Linked DNA regions of Homo sapiens: regions 1, 3 and 4 are each linked to region 2. Evidence: promoter capture Hi-C in human tissues and cell types (Jung and others, 2019). All regions are on one chromosome and are shown on one strand. Each heading gives the region's core, a stretch centred on a gene start or on the middle of the fragment in contact. The rest is flanking DNA. Distances are from core to core; before and after follow the strand shown.

What was found. The method cuts DNA at HindIII sites, captures the fragments that hold promoters and counts their contacts. A contact is called where the count stands out against the background at its distance.
Region 1: a contact is called between a fragment that was not itself captured here and the fragment with the promoter of MELK in region 2, in 1 of the 25 tissues and cell types used here (mesendoderm cells).
Region 3: a contact is called between a fragment that was not itself captured here and the fragment with the promoter of MELK in region 2, in 1 of the 25 tissues and cell types used here (spleen).
Region 4: a contact is called between a fragment that was not itself captured here and the fragment with the promoter of MELK in region 2, in 1 of the 25 tissues and cell types used here (H1 embryonic stem cells).

The regions. Positions count from the first base shown.
Region 1 is chr9:36,354,300-36,360,329 of GRCh38, reverse strand. It overlaps RNF38 (ring finger protein 38), which reads left to right. Exons shown (of 12, transcript NM_022781.5): 5 at 2,388-2,555; 6 at 3,857-4,027. Among named protein-coding and RNA genes, the nearest start is that of RNF38, 43 kb to the left of the region's middle. The HindIII fragment of the contact is 4,996 bases long and covers 1-4,307 here.
Region 2 is chr9:36,568,914-36,575,279 of GRCh38, reverse strand. MELK (maternal embryonic leucine zipper kinase) reads right to left here and starts at 2,385. Exons shown (of 18, transcript NM_014791.4): 1 at 2,273-2,385. RefSeq lists a silencer at 2,304-2,583 and an enhancer at 3,167-3,666. The HindIII fragment of the contact is 26,418 bases long and covers 1-6,366 here.
Region 3 is chr9:36,379,248-36,385,166 of GRCh38, reverse strand. The region is part of intron 2 of RNF38 (ring finger protein 38); the gene reads left to right. Among named protein-coding and RNA genes, the nearest start is that of RNF38, 18 kb to the left of the region's middle. The HindIII fragment of the contact is 8,504 bases long and covers 1-5,919 here.
Region 4 is chr9:36,709,955-36,716,464 of GRCh38, reverse strand. No RefSeq gene overlaps it. Among named protein-coding and RNA genes, the nearest start is that of MIR4475, 110 kb to the left of the region's middle. The HindIII fragment of the contact is 5,393 bases long and covers 1-4,204 here.

The DNA.
Region 1 (6,030 bases), core at 560-3,059, 210 kb after region 2:
TTCAAGATAATATAGATAAAAATTATCTTCGTACTAACACTAACCGCTTTGACATGCAAATAGAGTAAAATAACCTCTTGTCATTATAACAGAACCACAGTTTGAGGAACAAATTTAATAATAAACTTTGAGAAATAAATTTAATAATCTTTTTGAAGAAAACTAATTTTTTTTTTCAATCCTGTCTTATGGGGTTGAAGGAAGACTTAATTTCTTCTTGAAAGACAGAACCGTGATATTCAACGTAATGGCATAATGTTTCTGGGTATAAAAAGTCTTAATATAGGTCAGGCACGGTGGCTCACGCCTATAATCCTAACACTTTGGGAGGCTGAGGCAGGCAGATCATCTGAGTTCAGGAGTTCAAGACCAGACTGGCCAAAATGGTGAAACCCTGTCTCTAATTTAAAAAAAAAAGCCAGGTGTAGTGGCACACGCCTGTAGTCCCAGCTACTCGGGGCGGGGCTAAGGTAGGAGAATTGCTTGAAACCAGGAGGTGGTGGTTGCAGTGAGCCAAGATTGTGCCATTGCACTCCAGCCTGGGCGACAAGGCTGGAGCCTGGGCGAAACTCCATCTCAAAAAAAAAAAAAATCTTAATATAAAATTCAGTCCTTTGTAAAATAACATATTTAGTACAATCTTAATACTAATGGGTTTTGGAAGTGAATAAAATTGATTTTATACGTAAGAATAACTGTGTGACAATGCCAAAAAATGAAAAGATGTATGGTGAGAAGAATTTCTTACCAGATGCTAACTCTTCCAGTAAGATACTGTAGTTAAAGCAGCATGAAATCCAGGAATGTGTGCGTACTTAATGAATTTTTAAAAAGATGGTATTTCACTGTAGAGGCAAGAAGATGGTTTAATAAATGGAGCAAGTATAATTGTCCATGTGCAAGCAAAATTAGAGCCCTACTTTATAAACAAAAATAAGTCTTTTGGAATACGAAAAACTAAAGAATTAGGAAATACAGGAATATATGTTTATAACCTCATCAGTAAAGGAAACCCCAAAGCTACACTCTGGCTACATTTAAAAAAAAAAATCACAAAAGACAAAAATATGCCATTAAATAAAGGATCTCATCAAAAGATAAAACATAGACTAGGAAAATATTTTCATTACACACAACAAGCAATAGATTCATATACCTCTTAAATAAAAAAATTACAAATGATTATGACAACCTAGAGGATCGATGGGGCCAGGTGCAGCGGCTCACACCTGTAATCCCAGCACTTTGGGAGGCCAAAGCTTCCGCCTTGGCCTCAGATGAAATTAAGTCTTCCTTCAGCCCCATAAGACAGGATTGAAAAAAAAATTAGTTTTCTTGTCGCCCAGGCTGGAGTGCAATGGCGCGATCTCAGCTCACTGCAACTTCCACCTCCCAGGTTCAAGTGATTCTCCTGCCTCAGCCTCCCAAGTAGCTGGGATTACAGGCACCCGCCACCACTCCCAGCTAATTTTTTGTATTTTTAGTAGAGACGGGTTTTCACCATGTTGGCCAGGCTGGCCTCATCCTCCTGACCTCCAGCGATCTGCCCACCTCGGCCTCCCAAAGTGTTGGAATTACAGGCATGAGCCACCGTGCCTGGCCAAACTAATATCATATTTTTTCAGTTGTGTTTATATTGGCAAAAGAGTTGAAAACAATTTGAACATGTGTTGATACACCATATGATAGGACTGTGTTAAGCAAGTGTTTCTTAAAATATCTGGCTAGTACCAAAGAGAACAAGTTACTTTTAACTCCCTTGCATACATACCTGCAATGTAGTATTAAATGGAAAAACAAAGTTGCAGGGTAGTATGATCTCATTTCTGTTAAGAAAACAAAAATAAATGTGACATTTTATATGTAATTGTGCTTTCATATGTTCATGGAGAAAGAGAAGAAGGATATGTTATCAGCATCGTTTGCCTCTGGGTGGCAGGTAGGATGGGAATAAGATTGGCTAGGCGGGAAATGAGATTTCATTTTTTTAAAAATATACTTTACATTGTTTCACTAGTTGTAATTAAAATTTGTTTTGAATGTGACCAAATAATGGAAGATACAAGCTTTAATGATTCCAGTTCTTTTTATTCTGCCTTTATAGGACAGGCTAGAAGAGTTAATATAGTAATCCATTATTTCCCTGGGCTTTTCAAGTCATTTGAGGGAGGAGTTTAGCCCCAATTTTGTGGAAATAGTATATACTCTTGAAATAGTCAACTCTCCCCTACAAAGACAATGAATATTCTGGTCGAAACTATTGGAGAGTACATTGTGAAAATCCGTGTAGCTGAGAGAGGAGCCAATAAATGACCAAATGTTGATTTTGAATAGTTAACATTTTATCTAAACAGCTAAAGTTTGTTCATTTGTTTTTTCCTTTAAAGCTCCATCAAGGAACAGTCCCTGTTTCTTACACAGTAACAACAGTGGCACCACATGGGATTCCACTCTGCACAGGCCAGCACATCCCTGCTTGTAGTACACAGCAGGTCCCAGGATGCTCTGTGGTTTTCAGTGGACAGCACCTCCCTGTCTGTAGTGTGCCTCCTCCAGTAAGTCTCTATCTTTGTTCTCATTAGATATTACTATTAAGCACACCAGCCTGAATTTGGTTTTGTAACTTCCCGACTCTTACCCTCTTTAGAGGGGCTAACTGCATTATATAAGCAAACAAAATTTAAGAGACTGTCTTTGTAGTTTCACTTTCAAGTAAAAAGGCCAATTTTATTGCAATAAAAATCTCAATAATATCCTTATAGTAACCATTTAAGAAAATTAGCTTTATAACCGGATATATTTTTACATTAATTAACTTATACATATATTTGGATATCCTGAGGGTCAAACCATGTTTTCTCATATGTCAACACCGTTTATAATTAAAGCCAATGAAGGTCAGCCTAAGTCTCAGAGACCTTATTGTTCAACACTTAAGAGTCTCAGCACTTACTGAGTTTTAATGGGCACTTTGAGTGCTTTGTCTTATTCCTTACTATAGGAAACCTATGATGAAAGTAGCATCATCCCCCATTTTCTAGTGTCTGAATCTGAAAAGTTAAATATGACTTGCTCAGTGCCGTAGAGACAGCTAGTATAGGAGAGTAGAGATTCACACTAACTTTTTTTTTCTTGCCTCTGAAGCTTATGCTTTGTCCTTTAATCTTTAATCTCAGTTCAGCCTCCTTTCAGAAATGAGGGCGCTGTATTTAAATGATGTATCTAAGGTCAACAATGTCTTCAAAGGAAATCACAGCAAAATTTAAATGTAACTCTTAATACGTTGCTCTGAATGTGAGATTAAAGCAAGTGCACACTTATACCAATACTAACTTAACAGATTAATTTACTCAGGCTTAGTTTCTCAGTAATAGAAACATTGTACCAAATTTGGGAACTAAAATACTGAGAGATTATAAGGCAATTAGTTGAGAGTTGTGCTCTTATGAAAATCCTAGGAAGAAAAAGATTTCTACAGGATTGAAAAGGGGAGTTTCTTGAAATACCGGTAGTGTTTGCTACATCTTAAACCAACTAGAGAGAGTTTCCTCTTCTTTGCAGCACTTCCCCCCCGCCCCCCCCACACCCGCCCCAACCCTTTTTCATAGATGGTTAAAAGGCTCAAGGATTTCAACCAATTTATAAAAATTATATAAAATACAGAATAGTTATTAGTACCATTACTTTACTAGTAGATTAAAAAATACACTGGTATTTCATTGTTAATATAAGCTATTAAAAACATTTTCATGATTTTGGGAGAGGTGTGACAATGACAGATTTTAATCTCACTATCCTTTTAAATTAATCATATATTCTGATATTTTTAACCAAACTGTAATGGTTTCTCTTACAGATGCTTCAGGCATGTTCAGTTCAGCACTTACCAGTACCATATGCTGCATTCCCACCCCTTATTTCTAGTGATCCATTTCTTATACATCCTCCTCACCTTTCTCCCCATCATCCTCCTCATTTGCCACCACCAGGCCAGTTTGTCCCTTTCCAAACACAGCAATCACGATCGGTAGGTATCTCTACTATTATGTCAGAATGTTTAGTTTTTAACTAATTTTTAATTTTTTCAGAATGTTTAGGCCAGGTATATAACCTTAGTGGATTTAAGAACCAGACGAATGCCTAAGTTACTATGTTTAAATGGCATGCTTAAACATAGTAACTTGGCCAGGTGCAGTGACTCACTCCTGTAATCCCAGCACCCTGGGAGGTCGAGGCAGGCAGATCACCTAGGGTCTGGAGTTCAAGACCAGCCTGGCCAACATGGTGAAACCCTGTCTCTACTAAAAGTACAAAAATTAGCCGGGCATTGTGGCACGTGCCTGTAATTCCAGCTACTCAGGAGGATGAGACATGAGAATCGCTTGAATCCAGGAGGCAGAGGTTGCAGCGAGCCAAGATCATGCCACTGCACTCCAGCCTGGGCGACAGAGTGAGACTCTGTCTCCAAAATAAACAAACAAACAAACGTAATAACTTAGGCATTCTTCTGGTTCTTGAATTAAAGGAATCCAAACATATACAAATTAGTATAAACGTTTACCTTAAATTTCTGGTTTCTTAAATTTTTCTAGTTATTTTAATGTCACTTGTCTAAATTTGTGTTCTATTACATCTGCAGTCCTTCAGGAAGTAAATCTGAAGAAAAGTTTTTAGTTGTATTGTTTTTTTCTTTTTATGTGGTTCTAAATTGGAAAATGAAAATATTATAAAATTATTAATACTTGTTAGAATAATATTTGTATTCATTTAGGCAAGGAAATTAACCTTTCTGAACTTGAGTTACTTTTTCTGAAGGCCTGGTTTTTCACTATGTTGTGATGAAAAGCAGATGAGGTAGTCTGTTAACATAGTTAATTCTGTCTTGGGACTGGGATATAGTTGAGAGGCCTATTATTTTGGGACACTGGGAGATATAAGTACTATATAAGTACAAAGAAGGGCACAGGAAAAAAGGTCCAGTTGTTTTGATAGGCCAGGTTCAGCATCAAGACCATCAGACATTAAGGAGAAACAGGAGAGATAACCTATAGAAGTGGCTAAAGTGGAAGATTTCAGCTCTGTGGAAAGAACTTGACAGTTTATTGTAGCAGTCTTACCATTGTTTACTAAGGATTTCTATACCATGCTGGGTACCAAAGAGGCTGCTGTCCTGAAAACTGTAGAAGCAATTATGACGCAAGTTTGGCTCATCAGAAGAGGTAGAATTGCTTCTGCAAGACAATCTTTTCTTGGAAATAGGATAGGATTTGTGCCAGGATGTTCTCCTTCTCAGCTTCCAGTATCTGGGAATTCAAGGCTAAAGCAAAATTTAGCTATCACTTGTATCTAAATTTGGAATTCTTTTAAAGGTCCAGTCACATAGCCATATCAAGACTTTGTTTTCACTAGTGTTGTCATAGTGTAAGCAATTGTGATTTCTCTCAAGCATGCATAGGCTTCCAAATTAAAGCTTAGTATTTACTTATATTTGAATAACATGTTGCTATTCTGTAACTAAGGGAAGAAGTCAGACTAGCATTTAAAAATAAATGTGCCTAAGAGAATTCAGTTGAAAACATCAGCATGAAAATGTGTACACAAATGTAGTAATAGCACTATTCCTAATAGTCAAAGAGTGGACAATCCAAATGTCTGTCAACTGATAAATGGGTGACGAAAGAGTGGTATATCCATGCAATGTAATACTCACTCATAAAAAGGAGTGAAGCATTGATAAAGTCTGCGAAACAGATGAGCCTTGAAAGCATTATGTTAAGCAGAGAAGGTAGACATAGCTTCTTGCTTATTTAAATGAACTGGTTCCATTTACATGAAACGTGTAGAATAAGTAAATACATAAAAATGGAAAGCTGGGCCGTGCGCGGTGGATTACAAAGTCAGGAGATCGAGACCATCCTGGCTAACACGGTGAAACCCTGTCTCTACTAAAGTCTACTAAAAATACAAAAAAGTAGCCAGGTGTGGTGGCGGGCGCCCTAGCCCCAGCTACTCAGGAGGCTGAGGCAGGAG
Region 2 (6,366 bases), core at 1,136-3,635:
TCAACGCGGAAGACAGCCTCTCAACTGTGAATAATGAAGAAGGAAATTAGACCCCAATCAGACACCTGAGTGCCCTTCTGGGCTTGACTAAATAAATAGAAGAATTGGGGGTATATATAATTGGGTTTTGTTTTTGTTTTTGTTTTTGAGACGGAGTCTTGCTCTCTTGCCCAGGCTGGAGTGCAGTGGCGTAATCTCGGCTCACTGCAACCTCCGCCCTCTGAGTTCAAGCAATTCTGCCTCAGCCTCCCAAGTAGCTGGGATTACAGGTGTGCGCCACCACGCCCGGCTAATTTTTTGTATTTTTAGTAAAGATGGGGTTTCACCATCTTGGCCAGGCTGGTCTTGAACTCCTGACCTCACAATCCATCTGCCTCGGCCTCCCAAAGTGCTGGGATTACAGGCGTGAGCCACCGCGCCCGGCCTATAATTGGGGTCTTTAACTTCTCAGAAGAGCAAGGAATTGGGATAATGAGAAGACGTTTATGGTTAAATTTTAAAGGATAGCAACAAATTGGGGGCATTTTTTAACAATATTATTTGGGCTATTCTATTACTTGCCGCATAAATACATTTACCTTATCTACAGAGCTTGGAAAGACACTGATGCTGAGGATAATTTCAAACAGGAAGTAGAATACAGAATGGTTTTTTGGGTTTTGTCTGTTTATTTGCTTGAGACAGGGTCTCGTTCTGTCACCTAGGCTGGAGTGCAGTAGCTAGATCTCGGCTCACCGCAACCTCCGCCTCCTGGGTTCCAGAGATGCTCGTGCCTCAGCCTCCCCAGTTGCTGGGATTACAGGCATGCGCCACCATGCCCGGTTAATTTTTTTTTTTTTTTTTTTTTTTGTATTTTTAGTAGAGACGGGGTTTCGCCATGTTGGCCAGGCTGGTCTAGAACTCCTGGCCTCAAGTGATCCGCCCACCTCGGCCTCCCCAAGTGCTGGGATTACAAGCGTGAGCCACCACGCCGGGCTCAGAATGGTTTATAATGTGGCCTGTAACACATTTAATTAGCATCCTGCCCTGCTCCCTTGCAAAGGCTTCTGGGAGCACCAACAATGAGGCACTCATTGGGATTGATCTGCCCATCTAGTTGGTCCACAGTAGTTACACAGAAAGGACAGACCCTTGGGAGAAACAAGCCCACGAAGGCCCAGTAAGGGCTTTTCTGATTTTTCTGATTTTCTAGCCAGACTCCATGGGAAACAGAAACCAAAATTTAAACCAAAGTTAGGAACACTGGCCTCTAAACAACAATCCAGGCTCCTGATACTCACCTCATTCCACTAACAAAGGAGAAATACCAAAGGTAATTACCCGTCCTAAGTGCTAGGGACCTGATTCCTCTCTTGGGCAGCCTTCCCTGAGTCTACCCTTTCCAGCTCCCACAACCCTACACCAGGTTTCTTGGTGGGAGCAATCCTGCTGCTCCTATTACTGATACAGCATTCGGTGAAAATTCCCCTTTTAGGCCGGGCGTGGTGGCTCACGCCTGTAATCCCAGCACTCTGGGAGGCCAAGGCGGGCGGATCACCTGAGGACACGAGCTGGAGACCAGCCTGGCCAACGTGGTGAAACCCCGTCTCTACTAAAAATACAAAAAATGAGCCGGGCGTGGTGGCGGATGTCTGTAAGCTCAGCTACTCGGGAGGCTGAGGCAGAAGAATCGCTTGAACTTGGGAGGCGGAGGTTGCGGTGAGCCGAGATCGCGCCATTGCACTCCAGCCTGGGCAACAAGAGCGAAACTCCGTCTTGAAGAAAAAGAAAAAAAATTCCCCTTTTAGTGTGAGCCTCTGAAGCCACTACTCTGGGGAGATGATAGGAGAGGATGGATTTGGACTCTGAAAAGGTAGTGATAACACATCTCCTTTTTTATTGCACTGCCCCAGTAAACTGAGTTGTACAAACAGAAAAAACTCGAAACCCTTCTGTCAACTTTTTTCGCGGGGAAGAGTCACGGAAACTGGAAACGGGAAATGGGAATTCACGTCTATCGCAGCCTCCTAGGTGGCAAACGCTTAGCCTGAACACCTCTTCAATAACCCTGTTAAGTAGACACGGTCATTATCCCCACTTACGGAGAAGAAAACCGCGGGTCGGAAAGGTCAAATATCTTATCCAGGGAACAGGGCTGGTAAAGCGCGGGGCTCCGATGAAATCCTCCAGTCTCCCGAGAGCCAGGAGCAAACTGGGTTTGGGCCGCTGCGCCCCGCACAGCCCAGACCCCAGCCATCAACTGCGACTGCGGCGGGCAGGCGGGAGAACTGACCTGAGGGGCGGAGGGCACGGCTGAGCGGCGCCCGACAGAAGGACAGGGGCCTGCTGTCCTGAGAGACGCGGCTGGTACGGCGTTCCTAAGAATCTTTTCGATCGCCGGGTTGTGGCCGCTTCCGCCCGCCAAGGGAATCAAATCTCCCGGGCCGGAAGGGGCGGGGACGCGGCGGGGGCGCGCGCGGCGCCGGATCCCAGGGAAGCGGACGCGCACGGCAGGCGGGGGCGCGCACAGTGCCGGGGGGTTCTCACCGGGGCAACGGCTCGCGGTCGCTGTGGAGCCGTGAAAGGGATGGCCGGGAGGTCCACTGGGCTGCGAGGGGTGACTTGAGGCCTTGGTCTTGCCCCGGAGGGCACGTGATGATTTTCCAGGTGGCGTGGATATGCCAAGTCTCCACAGAACCCAACTTTCTTACGTTCTCTTCCTAAAATTGACGTGCCCTCTGGCAGTCACAGTTCTCATTTTCGTCCTCCCTTGCCCACTGGCCGTTCTCCCACCCAGCAAAGACAGGAATACCTCCCCCTCTCCAAAATGTGTTGCCACGAGGAATAAGAACCCCAGTAGCTGAGACTACAGGCACGCGCCACCACGCCTGGCTAAATTATTTGTGGGTAGAGACGGGATCTCGCTATGTTGGCCAGGCTGGTCTCGAACTCCTGGGCTCAAGCGATCCTCCCGCCTCAGCCTCCCAAAGTGCTGGGATTACAGGCGTGAGCCACTGTATCCGGCCCAGAAAATCTTTAGACAAATTAAACTTTACAGAGTTGAATTGACCAAAGAATGAGTCCAAAATCCAGTAATCCCTGGAACCAAAATAGGTTCAGAGTGATTCGGGCTGCCATATGTTCAAATAACATTTATGGACAGAAAAAGGAAAATGACTTACAGAAATTGCAGTCAAGTATGGAAACAGCTGGATTGGTTGCAACTCAACCTCTGACTATTTTGAGCACTGTTTAAACAGTTGGCCACCTGTGATTGGCCAAAACTCCGCTGCTGTGATTGACTGAGACTCGCTACTTGTTACAAGGTTACAGTCTCTTTACACATTTACAATTGTAGTTGTCTACAATTCACTATGTATGGAGAAACTGTTAGGCCAGGTGCAAAGGCTCACATCTATAATCCCAGCACTTTGGTGGGGGGGCGGGGGCAGATCATTTGGGGTCAGGAGTTCGAGACCAGCCTGACCAACATGATGAAACCCTGTCTCTACTAAAAATACAAAAAATTAGCCGGGCTTGGTGGCGCGAGCCTATAATCCCAGCTACTCAGGAGGTAGAGGCAGGAGAATCTCTTGATTCTCTCTGCTGGGAGGCAGAGGTTGCAGTGAGTAGAGATCGTGCCACTGCACTCCAGGCTGGGCAACAGAGCAAGACTCCGTCTCAAAAAAAGAGAAAGAGAGAAAGAGAGAGAGAAAAGAAAGAAAGGAAGAGAAGGGGAAGGGAAGGGGAAGGGAGGGGAAGGGAGGGGAAGGGAAGGGAAGGGAAAGGAAAGGAAGGGAGAGAAAGGGAGAGAGAGAAAGAAATAAATTGTTAGTCTGAACTTAAAATGCATAAGGAGGCAGCTTTATGCTAAACTTAATTTAACATGGTCATCTGAATCTTCAGCAAATCATAATCTTTTTGCTGGTGGAGGGTCTTGCCTCCATGCTGCTGATTGATCAGGGTGGTGGTTGCTAAACGTTGGGATGGCTGTGGCAATTTCCTAAAATAAAACAACAATGCTGCATCGATGGACACTTCCTTTCATGAAAGATTTCTCTGTAGCATGTGATGCTGTGTGATACCATTTCATCCACAGCAGGACTTCCTTCAAAGTTAGTTCTCTGAAATCTTGCCACTGCCTTATCAACAAAGTTTATGGAATATTCTAAATCTTTTGTTGTTATTTCAGCAATGATCACAGCATCTTCACCAAGAGGAGCTTCCATCTCAAGAAAGCACTCTCTCTTTGCTCATCCGTAAGAAGAAACTCCCCATCTATTCAAGTTGGATCATGAGATTGCAGCAGTTCAGTCACATATTCAGGCTTCACTTCCAATTCTAGTTCTCTTGCTGTTTCCACCAAATCTGCAGTTACTTCCACGAGTGAAGTCTTGAACCCCTCAAAGTCATCCATGAGGGTTGGAATTAATTTCTTCCCAACTCCTGTTAATGTTGATATGGTGACCTCTTCCCATTAATCATAAATGTTCTTTTTTTTTTTTTTGGAGATGGAGTCTCACTCTGTCACCCAGGCTGGAGTGCAGTGGCGTGGTCTCGGCTCACTGCAAGCTCCGCCTCCTGGGTTCACGCCATTCTCCTGCCTCAGCCTCCTGAGTAGCTGGGACTACAGGCGCCCACCACCATGCCCGGCTAATTTTTTTGTATTTTTAGTAGAGATGGGGTTTCACCATGTTAGCCAGGATGGTCTTGATCTCCTGACCTCATGATCCGCCTGCCTTGGCCTCCCAAAGTGCTGGGATTACAGGCGTGAGCCACCGTGCCCGGCCATAAATGTTCTTAATGACATCTAGAAGAGTTAATTCTTTCCAGAAGGCTTCCATTTTACTTTGCCCAGATCCAGCATAAAATCACTATCTATGGCATCTGTAACCTCACAAAATGTATTTTGTAAATAAAATGACTTGACAGTCAAAATCATTCCTTGATCTATGGCCTACAGAATGGATGTTATGTTAGCAGACATCCAAACAACATTCATTTCCTTGTACATCTCCATCAGAGCTCGTGGGTGACTAGGGGCATTATCAATGAGCATTAATATTTTGAAAGGAATCTTTTTTTCTTAGAAGTAGGTCTCAAAAGTGGGCTTAAGGTATGCAGTAAACCTTAGCCAGCTGTGGCGGCATATGCTGGTAATACCAGCTCTTCAGGAGACTGAGGCAGGAGGATCACTGGAGCCCAAGAGTTCGAGGTTACTGTAAGCTATAATTACGTCACCGCATTCCAGCATGGGTGGCAGAGTGAGACCCTGCCTCAAAAAAACAAACAAACAAACAAAAAAGATATTCAGTAAACCCTAGTATAAACAGTTATACTGTCATCTAGGCTTTGTTGTTCCATTTATAGAGCATAGGCAGAGTAGATTCAGCATAATTCATAAGGGCTCCGGGATTTTCAGACTGGCAAATGCACACTGGCTTCAACTCCAAGTCACCAGCTGCGTTAGCTCCTAACAAGAGAGTCAACCTGTCCTTTGAAGATTTGAAGCTAGGCATTGACTTCTTCTCTTTAGCTAAGAAAGTTCTAGATGGCTCCTCTTCCAACCTAGAACTATTTCCTCTACATTGAAAATTTGTTATTCAGTGGAGCCACCTGCATCAATGATCTTAGCCAAATCTTCTGTATAACTTGCTGCAGCTTCTACATCCGCACTTGCTGCTTCACTGCGCACGTTTATATTACAGAGACAACTTTTTTTCTTTTTTTGAGACGGAGTTTCGCTCTTGTTGCCCAGGCTGGAGTGCAATGGCGCCATCTCGGCTCGCCGCAAACTCGCCGCAAACTCGCCCTCCCAGGTTCAAGTGATTCTCCTGCCTCAGCCTCCCAAGTAGCTGGGATTACAGGCATGCACCACCACGCCCAGCTAATTTTGTATTTTTAGTAGAGACGATGTTTCTCCATGTTGGTTGGGCTGGTCTCAAACTCCTGACCTCAGTTGATCTGCCCGCCTCGGCCTCCCAAAGTGCTGGGAGTACAGGCGTGAGCCACTGCACCCAGCCTACAGCTTCTTACCTTAAATCTCATGAACCGACCTCTGCTAGCTTCCAAATTTTCTTCTGCAGTTTCCTCACCTCTCCTAGCCTTCACAGAATTGAGGAGAATTGTGGCCTTGCTTTGGATTAGGCTTTGGCTCAAGGAATTTTGTGTCTGGTTTGATCTTCTATCCAGACTACTATCTATCAGCAGTAAGGCTGTTTCGCATTCTTATCACTCATGTGTTCAGTGGAGTAGCACTTTTAATTTTCTTCAAGAACTTTTCCTTTGCATTCACAATTTGGCTAATTATTTGGCACAAGAGGCCTCCCTTTCAGCCTATCAGCTTTGGACATGCCTTCCTCACTAAGCTTAATCATTTCTAGATTT
Region 3 (5,919 bases), core at 2,111-4,610, 190 kb after region 2:
TCAAAACGATTTTTTTTTTTTAAATTTTCGGTTAGCTCATGAGGCACCCACTTAACCGAGCTTTTTCACTTTTCCAATTTGCTTCAAATGCCAACCTACCATAGCATAGAACAATTCATGTTGAGTTCTTCGGCAACTTCGCATGTAGTTGTAAGAGGATCAGCTCGATGATTGCTCTCAATTGGTCATTGTCAACTTCTGATGGCCAGCCATGCTCCTCATCTTCAAGGCTCTCGCCTCCCTTGCAGAACTTCTTGAACCACCACTGCACTGTATATTCGTTAGCAGTTCCTGGGCCAAATGCATTGTTGATGTTGCAAGTTGTCTCTGCTGCTTTATGACCCACCTTGAACTAAAATAAGAAAATTGCTTGAATTTGCTTTTTGTCTAACATCATTTCCTTAGCCTAAAATAAACATAAATAGCAAGTAATAAGTCATTAACAAAGAACATAAAGTGAGAAATTCCCATTAAAATGATATATAACATAACCACATTTATTTAAGAACGTATTCCAATACCAAACGGCAAATTCCAACACTGCATAAACTGCAGTTATTTTTGCACTCACCTAATACATCTGGTGGATATTTTTCAGCCCTTCATCCTGCATCCTTGAAACCTCCTTCGCCTGGCTTCCATCACACTCCACCCTCCTGCTAATCAAGTACCCAGCATTAAATGTTGGTGTTTCTTAGGTTTCCGTATTGGGCCTTGTTTTCATTACATAAACTTTTGAGGGGCAATTTTGTCTATGTCTGCAGCTTCATGAATGATGATCTGTATATCAACACTCCTAAATTTATATTCCTACCCTCTGAGCTTCAGCTGTTTACAGAACACCTCCAGGCGGGGTATCTCTCAAAGGATCTCTTGATTTCAGGTTGTTTTAGTATCTTTCCTATTTTCACTGGTTTCATGTTTATACTTTAGATTTTTTGTTTTAGTCTCTTATCTATAATTATAGCTTAAAATTATTATAGTTACAGATACATGAGTAGAATCTAGTATTCTGGTAGAAATATAGTGATACTTACAATTGTAGCATCAAGCTAAATTAGTTTTTGTGAACCAGTGATGTTTTGTGTAATTAGGAACTGTGAAAAATATAGTATATAACATCACTAGTCTGTTACTCAAATACTAGCCATGCAGGCCTCCTTAGACTTAGGAAACCACTTTATTTATAGTTCCTGTGTTTTGGTGGACTAGCAGTTATAGCCAATGATAGGAAAATACCGTATTTTACTATTCATCATGGTGTGATTGCAATACGTTATACTACTAGAGTGCCTTTCTGAGCAGCCACTGCATATCAAACTGTTATTTTCTTTGGGCTTCGGTTTAAAAAAAAAAAAACTTGGCACGTATCAAAGAGCAAAATTTTTTTGTTTCTGCATGTTTATGGTAACTTTTGAAAACAACATGGTAACTTTTGAAAACAACATTCAGAGCCTCTTCTATATCTGCAAGTAAAATAACATTTCAGGAGAATATATTAGTTGTCTGGTTGAGAGACAGAATTTCATTGCAAAATTGTGATCTGAGGAGTATAAGAATTATACATCAAATGAAAGTCCTATGTGAAATGAGACTGTGTACATTATGTAGTTCAAGGGCAGCATGTTCACTGAACTGCCTTAAAAAGTTTCAGTTTCACTAATAGAAACACATTTAGGCCGGCCGTGGTGGCTCATGCTTATAATCCCAGCACTTTGGGAGGCTGAAGTGGGCGGATCATGAGGTCAAGAAATAAAGACTGTCTTGGCCAACATGGTGAAATACATCTCTACTAAAAATACAAAAATTGGCTGGTGCGCGCCTGTAGTCCCAGCTACTTGGTAGACTGAGGCAGGAGAATCGCCTAAACCCAGGAGGCGGAGGTTGCAGTGAGCTGAGATCGCGCCACTGCACTCCAGCCTGGCAGCAGAGCGAGACTCTGTCTCAGCAACCAAAAAACCACATTTTACGTATTATCTGGACATAGTTTAAAAATGAAAACCTCAGCTTGTGGAGAATAAAATGAGGTAATGTTAGAAGTCATTTTGTAAACTATTGTGTGATCCAAATATAAAATTCTTAATTTTCTGCTTTCCCCAGCTTATATCCATCTTCTGCAAAACAAAAAAGGATCTTGTCTTATTTTTTAGTAACAAGTTGCTTATATAGAGTGTTGATTTCTAAGTGTTTTCACATTTATTTAAAATGAATAAAATTTAGTGAGAGTTTGCTCTTCCTGGGCCCTTTGCATTTAACTGTTTTTCCTTAATTGTGGAATAAGAAACTTCATTTTTGTTAAAGGTAATTAAGGCAAGTAGAGAAAGTCTGGGAGTTTAAAGGAGAATTGAAGATTCTTAACTCATGCTGTGCTTATTTGTAAATCTAAGGTGAAGAGTAGTCCTGACTGATTAGAAAGAGGACCAGGTTCTTGAGAAATTCCATTTCCCCACACAAGTTGCCTCTTTGCTGCTTTGGGAAGGAAGTCCTTAGGGCTCACTAGTGGTTGCCATTAGAGGCATGTTGTAGTCACTGAGTAGAACTTGAAACCTGTTTCTGTTTTGGGAAAAGTTTGTCTGGCTCAGCATCTCCTATTATCTCTAAGACTTGCTGATATATATATAAACCCAAGATATATATTACATATAAAATTGTTTTTCTTTAGCCTTTAATGACTTCTGACTTGTTCATCTGGAATTATGGAATGCATTCTTATGCCTGCCTCAGGTTCATTTCACTTCTGTTGATGTTTTGGTAATAAAAATGGTTTGGTGTTAATAGAGGTGTACTCCTAGACTCATTTTTATCAGATTTAATGCTAAGCATAAAACCTGCCTTTCCTTCCTTCCTCCCATTATGACCTCTTTGACCTCCCTTGATCCCTAAATCTGTAGCAGTGTTCTATACTGTAATGTCTGTACAACGTTCTATATTATTAAATAATAGAGACAGTACTTGTACCAGATTTGAATCAACATCTTATGAATTTTAAATTGTCAACACTTGGTACTTTGAAAAGTTGGTCCACTGGCCTAGAATCAACAAGGAGAGGAGGGAAAGAACTTCTCTGCCTGATAATTCAAAATCTAAATTATCCAAGCATCATCACCTGGGATAATAGTAGAGATGACAGTTCATGGACCTCTGGTCCAGACTTTCTGAATTAGAGACGGGGGAGTGAGGCCAGCAAGCAATCTGGTGTTTCTGAAGCATGAAGGTTTGAGAACTACTGGCATAGGTATTAATGGAAAGACCCAACTCTGTGAAAACATTTTAAAGAGGTTTATTCTGAGACAATATGAGTGACCATGGTCTGGGAAACAGTCTCAGGAGGTCCCAAGGAAATGTACCCACTACAGTCGAATTACAGTTTTAGGGAGGCAGGAGTTACAAAGTCATAAATCAATACATGGAAAGTATACATTGTTTCAAACCGAAAAGACACAGAATATCTTGAAGTGAGGACTTAAAGATTTTAGGTGGATTCAGAGATGAGATTCTGTAATTTGCAGTTGGTTTATAGAGTAAAGCTTTGTCTAAAAATTTGGATTCAGCAGAAGGGAATCTTATAAGAAAGTCTGTTAACCAATACACTGGGTTAGAGTGACCTGTAGGGGTGTGTGAGTTAACCCTTGTCTGGCTTGGCCTTAGGTCCTGTTTATAATTTGGTATCTTATTGTCACAAAAAGTCCATTCTGTTAGGTCCTATAATTTCTATTTTAACATTAATGCTGGTCAGTTTTGCCTAAACTCCAGAAGCAGGGGATGGAGAGATAAAATGAGGTGTATCTAGTCTTCCTTCCTGTCCAGGCCAAGAACTCAATTTTTCTAGTTTCTCTGGGGTCTCTGTAGTCAAGAGAGAGTCAGTTCAGTCATTTGGGGGGGATTTTATTTTTAGTTTACAAAAGCAGTGGGAATATCCTTCCAGATTCAGTTTTGTATTTACTCATGTAAAGAGACCTTGTAGTAGCGTAGTTCTGGATGAGTTTTTATGTTTTTATGTTTAGAGGTTCACAGACAGCATGGATCGTGAAAATCTGAACCCCAAATAGGGTGTGAGGAGTGAACCTAAGTTTGAATTCTCACGGGAGAAACCCACTTCCACTCGAAGTCAACACAGAGCAGACATTTCCTTATTGACGTTTCCTTCTCTTTTCCACTGGAATGACTTTTTCTTGTCTTCCTTTTTAAGTGTACTACTTTGGAAATTTTGACTACTTCATGTAGGGGTCTCAGTCATAAGGCCTTATCTTCTATTCCTCTTGAGAGCATCAAAAATACAAATTTGGTCTTCAGTTTTCCTCAGTTTCTGAGTCCTTGATGATTTCCCTTTTTTCCCCTGCATTTAGCACTGCATTTTAAAAGCATGTTTGTTAGCCAGGCGTAATGACTCAACACCTGTAATCCCAGCACTGTGGGAGGCCGAGGTGGAAGGATTGCTTGAGCCCAGGAGTTTGAGACCAAACTGGGCAATATAGTGAGACCTTGTATCTCCAAAATTTTTTTTTAATTAGCTGGTCATGGTGGTGTGCACCTGTAGTCCCAGCTACTTGGGAGACTTAGGTGAGAGCATCTCTTTAGCCCGGGATGTGGAGGTTGCAGTGAGCTGAGATCGTGCCACTGCACTCCAGCCTCAATGACAGAGTGAGACTGTCTTTAAAAAAAAAACAGGCCGGGCGCAGTGGCTCACGCCTGTAATCCCAGCACTTTGGGAGGCCAAGGCGGGCAGATCACCTGAGGTCAGGAGTTCGAGACCAGCCTGACCAACGTGGAGAAACCCCATCTCTACTTAAAAATACAAAATTAGCAGGGTGTGGTGGCGCATGCCTGTAATCCCAGCTACTCGGGAGGCTGAAGCAGGAGAATCGCTTGAACCCAGGAGGCGGAGGTTGCAGTGAGCCGAGATCCTGCCATTGCACTCTACCTGGGCAACAAAAGCAAAGCTCCATCTCAAAAAACAAGCAAAAAAGTATGTTATATTTAAGCCATTATTTTTAGATTTTTGTATTTTGATTTTCACTAAATGTCCGTGATTTTATCATAAACATTTAGAGTTTACATTAATAGAGTTTATACTTCCATTCTGTTCTGTAACTACAGTAGTGATCTTTCATGCCTTGTCCTAGGTTGATTTTAACTATCAGAAACTAGTAAACACTTTGCATCATGTTAGGAACATCCATATATTTAGTCATTGCAGAACCAAGAGCATGTGTGGCCCATGGAAAAGTGAATGTAATCTTCTGACTACCCATTCCACTCAAAGAATGCTTTAGATGACAAGGTCAGATGAATTTGCATTCCTCATTGACTTTCCTGGACTGATTGTCTTTTATATAATGACAGAGCTGTCTGCTTAAATTTTATTAATAACTTCCAAGTTCTCAGTCATATATTTTGATTCTATTTAGGGCATTTTTCTCGGAGCCCTCTGACTTCTTGTTCTAATGTGGAATGATGAATTTCCACACTTCCTATACTACCATTCCTGGAATTTCATTTCATTGTACTCTCTGGGTTACTTCTGTCATTTATTGGATATTGTGTAATAGCTTCAAATCAGAGAGATAGGGAAGGTTGTGAGCACACATCAAGTGATTTTCTGCTATGTAAGGAGCACCTTTGGGTCTTGATATATCTGACAAAGGTCATTTTTTTTATGCTTCCACACTAGATTAATAGTGTGATTGGAGTACAAAATTTGGGTTCAATATTCATTTCCCTCAGAGAACTTTTAGCATCTGTTTCTGCTATAGGAAGTCTGATGTTAATATAATTCTTATTTCTTTGTAGGTTACTACCCCTTCCCTTTTCTGGAAACTGTGAGAATTTCTTTGAAGTTCCTTAGAGTACTAAAATTGATAAGGGAAGTGATGAAATCATATTGCATGTAGCAAACTACTTTTTAATGTTTGCCTGTAT
Region 4 (6,510 bases), core at 259-2,758, 140 kb before region 2:
TTCTTCTAATTCTTTCTGTGTTGTTGGCTGGTGTTTCATTTGTTCACTCTTTTGGTTACAATCATACGTTCATATTTTCCATATTATTTTGCAACTTGCTTTTCTGACCTAACACTCCATGAACATCTTTCTATGGCATTAACTATTATTTCACATCATTTTAATGATTACATAATGTTCAGTAGAATTGGTTGTGCCATGCTTTTTAAAAACCACTCCCTTTGTTGGAGGCTTTTGAGTTTTCATTTTTCCCATTACAAATACAAAGTCCACTTTGAATTTTATGGTGATTAAAGCACTTGTTCCCATCGCTTTGGATTTCTTATTAACTTAAAGGGAAAACAATGTAATAATCACTCTCCTCATTTGACAGATGAGAAAACTGAGGCTCACAAAGAAAAAGTGGGTTGCCCAAGGTCACCTGGTAGCTGGTAGAGCAGCATCCAATCCAAGTCTTCTGGGCTTCCAAACCAACCAGATTCCTGACTTTCCTTTTTTTTATCATGGAGAAATGAATACTCCAAAGGATGCTTATGTCTTTTCCTCCCCAGGAGCATCTGGGTTTAAATGGACCACGTAACACAATTCAGAAACTTTGACTTCTCAATGCACTGTAGCCCCTTGTCTTCTCTCAATCCTGTCAGCCAGTTTTGTTTTGATCATTGTAGTCACTGTGTCATTATTTTCTTGTTTGTTCAGTTGTATTTTGGCTGTTACAGTGATTGGGAGGGAGAGGGCGACTGGGATACTAGACATCCTGCAAGGCATGGATTGTGTTCAATTTACACTGACTTTTCCAGGAATGTAACCAACATTTAGTTTTTTAGTTTCGTTCTGTTTTGTTTTCTAGAGACGGGTCTTGCTATGCTGTCCATGCTGATCTTAAACTCCTAGCCTCTAGTGATCCTCCTGTTTCAACCTCCTGAGTAGTGGATCTACAGGTGCATGCCACCCTGCCTGGCTCAGTTTTTCTTTTTCTTTTTTTTTTTTTTTTAAGATTATTTTACTTCCTTCAACTCAGAGTTTTGTCATTTCAGAAAATGAAGAAATACCATGGTATTTGAGTCACTGATTCTCTCCCTCTATCGGTCTGCATCTGTGTCTGTCACATTGAAGGCAATTCTAAGTATATTTACCAATGTACTTTTTTTAGCCCTTATTTCAAAATGTCAAAGATAAAGAGAAAATGTCATCAACATTCCGTAGGATATTATCTTTCTTCTTACATTCAAACACTCAATATAAATAAGTGTAAATGCCTGAGTTCTTCACCGTGCTTTCTCATGTAGTTACGACCAAACATTTGCATATTGAAATCCATATTTTTAAAAATTTCTTTCCTTTTATTTCTCCACAGGGTCCAACTGTGTTGAGAACCACTGGCTTGGTCTGCCTCCCCCACTAGAACACCAGGTCCATGAAGGCAGGGCCTTGTCTGCCCAATTCACTGCCCCAGCCCTTAGCATTCAGAAGAGCATGTGATGAAAATCAGTTGAACAAAGGAATGATGGAGGCATTAAAAGATTTTGAGTGAGGAAGATATTTCCAGGCAGAGTTCAGCCTTAGACGAGTTGATTAGGTGAAGTTTCTGAAATTCCTTTTCTCCAAGTACAAATTGGGGTGGAAACCCCAATCTGCCTGGATATTGAGAGGATTCCAGGAGATCCCGGGTCTGGAGGTGGCTGGCCCGGTGCCTGGTGGAGGGGAGGGCTGAGTAAATAAGGGTTGTTGTTGTCATGATTAGATTTCTCAAGCAGTAAACCTTAACTCTCTATTTTCAGCTACCCCTCCTTCTCTGCTCAGAATCTGGGAGTTGTTACTAATACATTTTCCTAAGTACCTCCTATTCCCATTTATTTCCTGCCACTTCCCCCACCCTGAGCCTGGGCCACCTTCAATAATCTCACTCTAATTGGAAATTGGGGCTGTCAGGATGACCTTCCTCTCCCCTCCCCGGTTCTCACCTTCGTCCCCTTCTCTGACAGATGCGCACGTCCCCACAGCTCTAAGCAGAAGCCACCAACCAGGGGGGTGCCGTGAGGGAAGACTCCCATGGGCGCCGTGGCGGGCAGACCTGGTGCCCCAGACTTCAGCTGCCACGCAGGGAGTGAACCTGGCCCCTCTGCCAATTCTCCGTTATGAAATGCCGCCGCCCCCGGGGAGCCGTCTCCGGCCTTCCGCAGTGGCTCGGCAGCAGGTTTATCACACTCGCTGAGAGAAGACATAATCAATTCCCCAGCTGGCACTTTGCGCTGAATACCCACTTTTTCAGCTTGATAGCAGGACTAAATTAGTTATTTAGCAACTAGGCCCTAATTTAGAGCGAGCGAGAGCCTTGACAAGGATCATTGTTCAAGGCCATCCCCCCTTTGCCTTCAGATGGGAGGCCCACAAATCCCCAGAAGGTGATAAATAGACAATTAGAAAATAGATATATTTGGTTAGATCTACAAGGCTTCCCGGCGCTGTCAGGCTCACAATGAAGGGGGCCGGGGTAAATTGGTGGCCAATGAACACCAGCTGCACGGCCATCCGTCCTGCAGACACGCAGCCATATGTGGCCATTTACAGGCCATCCTGAAGAATAGATCGGACCAATAAGACCAGAGGGAACTAAAAATACTTGACAAAGTTGGCTGCTCTTCATTTAACAAGAATAAAATATCTAATGGGGTGTAATGGAAGCCATCAATCACCTGCTGCCAGAGCCAGCTATAACACCACACTTTAAACTATTAATGCAACTTCTTTTCTCTAATAAGTGGGACAGGCGCATCCGCTTTGTACACAGGGTGGCTGTTTGGGGAGTGTAGATGAATGGGAGATTCTGGAGAGCTGTGGCAGAGGATGAATTCTGGCCTAAAAATAGGAAAGGGATGGTGGGAATGTGAAATGGTGTCGCTGCTATGGAAAACAGTATGGCACTTCCCTAAGAAGTTCAGAAGACTTACCGTATGATCCAGCAATTCCACTCCTAGGTGTTTACCCAAAAGAATTGAAAGCAGGACTCAAACAGATACTTGTATGCCAGTGTTTATAGCAGCATTCTTCACAATATCCAAAAGGCGGACACAACCCAAGTGTGTACAAATGGACAAATGGATGAACAAAATGTAGTATATACGTACACTGGAATACTATACAGCCTTAAAAAGGAAGGAAATTCTGATATATGCTACCACATGGGTGAACCTTGAAAACATTATTCTAAGTAAAATAAGTCAGACACAAAAGAACAAATACTGCATGATTCCACTTACATGAGGCATCTAGAGTTGTCAAAGTCATAGAGACAGAAGGTGGGGTGGTGGTTACCAGGAGCTGGGAGGAGGGGAGAATGGGAAGTCATCATTTGATGAATATAGAGTTTCTGTAGGAAAAGATTTTAAAGTTCTGGAAACAGACAAAGATAATGGTTGTACAACTTTGTGAATGTACTTAATGCCATTAAATTGTATATTTAAAAATGGTTAAAACCACAAATTCTATGTTATATACTTTTTACCACAGTAAAAAAAAATTAATAGGAAAAGGAGAGCAGGCAAGACATTTGGAATCATCTGCTCAAATGGCAAACATTGCATTCAGCAGCTCAGGCTATTTGGTTATTTTCTACAGGATGAGGTATGTCAGTCCACCTGCTTCTTTCAATTCCAAGAAGCAGTCACTGAGCCCTCCTCTGCAAAGAACAAGGTCCTAGGCTGTAGGATGTGTGGGGAATCTGGCCATGCCTGCCCTCAAGGAGTTTTCATTCTACTACAGGAAACAGACACATGCAGAAAGAGCACAAAGAACCACAAGAGCCTGCAGAACTGCCCAAGTGGCGTAGGAGAGGGAAGAGGCAGAGATGGGGAAGGAGAGATGGAGCGTGGTAGGAAGGCTCTGGCACTGTTCATGAAAAGCAGGCCCCTTCGCTGGGGTGAGAACAGGCAAGATTGGGCCAGAAAGAGACAGAGGAAAGGCTCTCCAAGCAGAGGAAAGAATGTAGACAAAGATAAAGACCCTAGTGAGCAGGACACACATAACCCATTTGGCAGGAGTGGAGGACATGTGAAGGGGAGGAATAGAAGAGGAGGTGGGCTGGGTACAGTGCCTCACGCCTGTAATCCCAGCACTTTGGGAGGCTGAGGCGGGCAGATCACTTGAGGCCAGGAGTTCAAGACAGCCTGGCCAACATGGTGAAACCCCATCTCTACTAAAAACACAAAAAATTAGCTAGGCGTGGTGGTGGCACATGCCTGTAATCCCAGCTACTCCAGTGGCTGAGGCAGGAGAATCGCTCGAATCCAGGAGGTGGAGGTTGCAGTGAGCTGAGATCACACCATTGCACTCCAGCCTGGGGCGGCAGAGCGAGACCTTGTCTCAAAAAATAAAATAATAAAATAAAAAATGAAAAAATAAAGATGAGGTGGAAGATGGGGTTGAAAGCAGTCAAGGAAAGCCTTCATTTATTCATTTGTTCATTCATTTTACAAATATTTGTTAACTATGACATGCCAGATATTGGGATTTGTAGAAGAGAGATATACAGGTATAGAAGATAAGGTTTTAAATTGGTCAATTAAGTTCTATGTGTTTGGCCTTATAATATCAGATTTAAGAATCATCTTACAGGACACCACTCTCTGTCCCACGACTTCATCAGGAGAGAAGGGCCCAGATCCTCTTTACCTAGAATGACAACGTCTGCTTTTCACTCCGAGCGAAAGCCCTGCCCCTAACTCATCTCCTAGTCCTGCAATGTTGCCATGAAAGCAATTCTGGCCAGCGGGGAGGAGGAGGAAAGAGAAAGCTGGCACCTGCATCAGTTAAGATGTGTTCAGCTGTAATGAACGGGAACAGCAGCCCAAGCTGGCCTCTGCAATGAGGACATTGATTGGATCCCATAACTGGAAGTCAGAAGTACAGCAGACTCCTGGGTAGATGGATTTGGAGGGTCAGCCTTGCCATCAAATATTCAAGAGCTTTCTCTGTCTGTTGGAAATAGGATACTCACTAACCGATTTCCTCTTTTTCCAGAGCACACACCTTCCAGAGCACCAGCCTCCCTTGCAGGTAGATGTGGCCATGTGACTCAGTTCTAACTAATAGAATGTTGGTACAAGGGCATCACCTCCAAGCCTGGTGTGCAGAGACCACCCACACGCACGTCTCCATTGTGCCTTCCCTCATCTGCCAACCAGATCCAGAGGACCCCAAGGTCCAAGGGGATTGCAGAACCACCCATCTGGAGGAAGGTAATGCCCTAAATTACCACGTGTTCGGTTGCCAGGGCTGCCATAACAAAATACCACAGACTGTGTGGTTTAAATAACACATTTCTTCCCTAGTGGCCTGGAGGGTAGAAGCCCAAAGATCAAAACGTCTGCAGTTTGGTTTTGCCTTGTCTTGCACATGGCTACCTTCTCGCTTTGTCCTCAGAGTCTTTTCCTCTGTGTGTGTATGTCCCTGGTGTCTCTTTGTGTGTCATAATTTCCTCTTCTTAGAAGGACACCAGTCAGACTGGATCAGGGCCTACCCTAATGGCCTCATACTAACTTAATCACCCCTTTAAAGACCGTATCTCCAATACCTCACTTTCTGAAGCTCTGGGGATTAGAACTTGAGCATATTAGTCTTGGGGGAACACCATTCACTAGAACCTCGTGCAAGTTTTTTTCCAGACTCCTAGTTGGGGTTTACAAGATCAAGTAATAAACCCTGTTGTAAGGCATTGAGATTTGGGGTTTGTTTGTTAAGCAGCCAATGGGAATCATCCTGACTGATGGGCTATCATTCTGCACTGCAGTCAACAGTGAGCTGCATCAGAAAGCTGGTTGCAAGATGGCTGCCAAGAGAATCAGGGCTGTCGGCTTCCCTGTTTACATCCATTGATAGAGAGAGTGTCACTTCCAGAAGCTCTCCAGAACAGCGAGGACCCTCCTTTCCCAGAAGCCCCTAACAAACCTTCCCTCAATTTTCTTTGGCCAGAAATGTGTCACATGCCCATGATCAAGCACCACGACTGGGAAAATGGAATTATTCTGATTGGCTTATATAATAAAGGCACGTCCATTTCCTCCCAAGCACATGACTGCATGGGAGAGGAAGGGATATCAGCACAAAACTGGAATTTTATTAGGTGGGGGGAAGAGAGAACAGATGTTGAGAATACAACCAACAACATCAGCTCCGACACTTTTATCAAGGTTCTCTTTGTTCTAGAGCCTTTAGGGACCAGAGCTCTGCAAAGCCCAGCCCTGTATGGGCAACTTTTAAAAGATCATATAGAATGTAAGGATTTGCAGAGATTTTTTTGAGATCATCTATTCTAAACCAGTCTCTTTATTGTATGAATGGAGAAAGTGAGGCCCCAGGAGTTGGTGGTGATGCCAAGACCGGATGCAGGCAGCCTGACCCCCACACCAGGCCTTCCTTCAATCCAACAGTGGTTTCCACATCTTACAACTCCTCAGGAACCCCTGGGGAAATTTCTAGGAATACAGATTCCCAGACCTTGCCCCGGGTTAA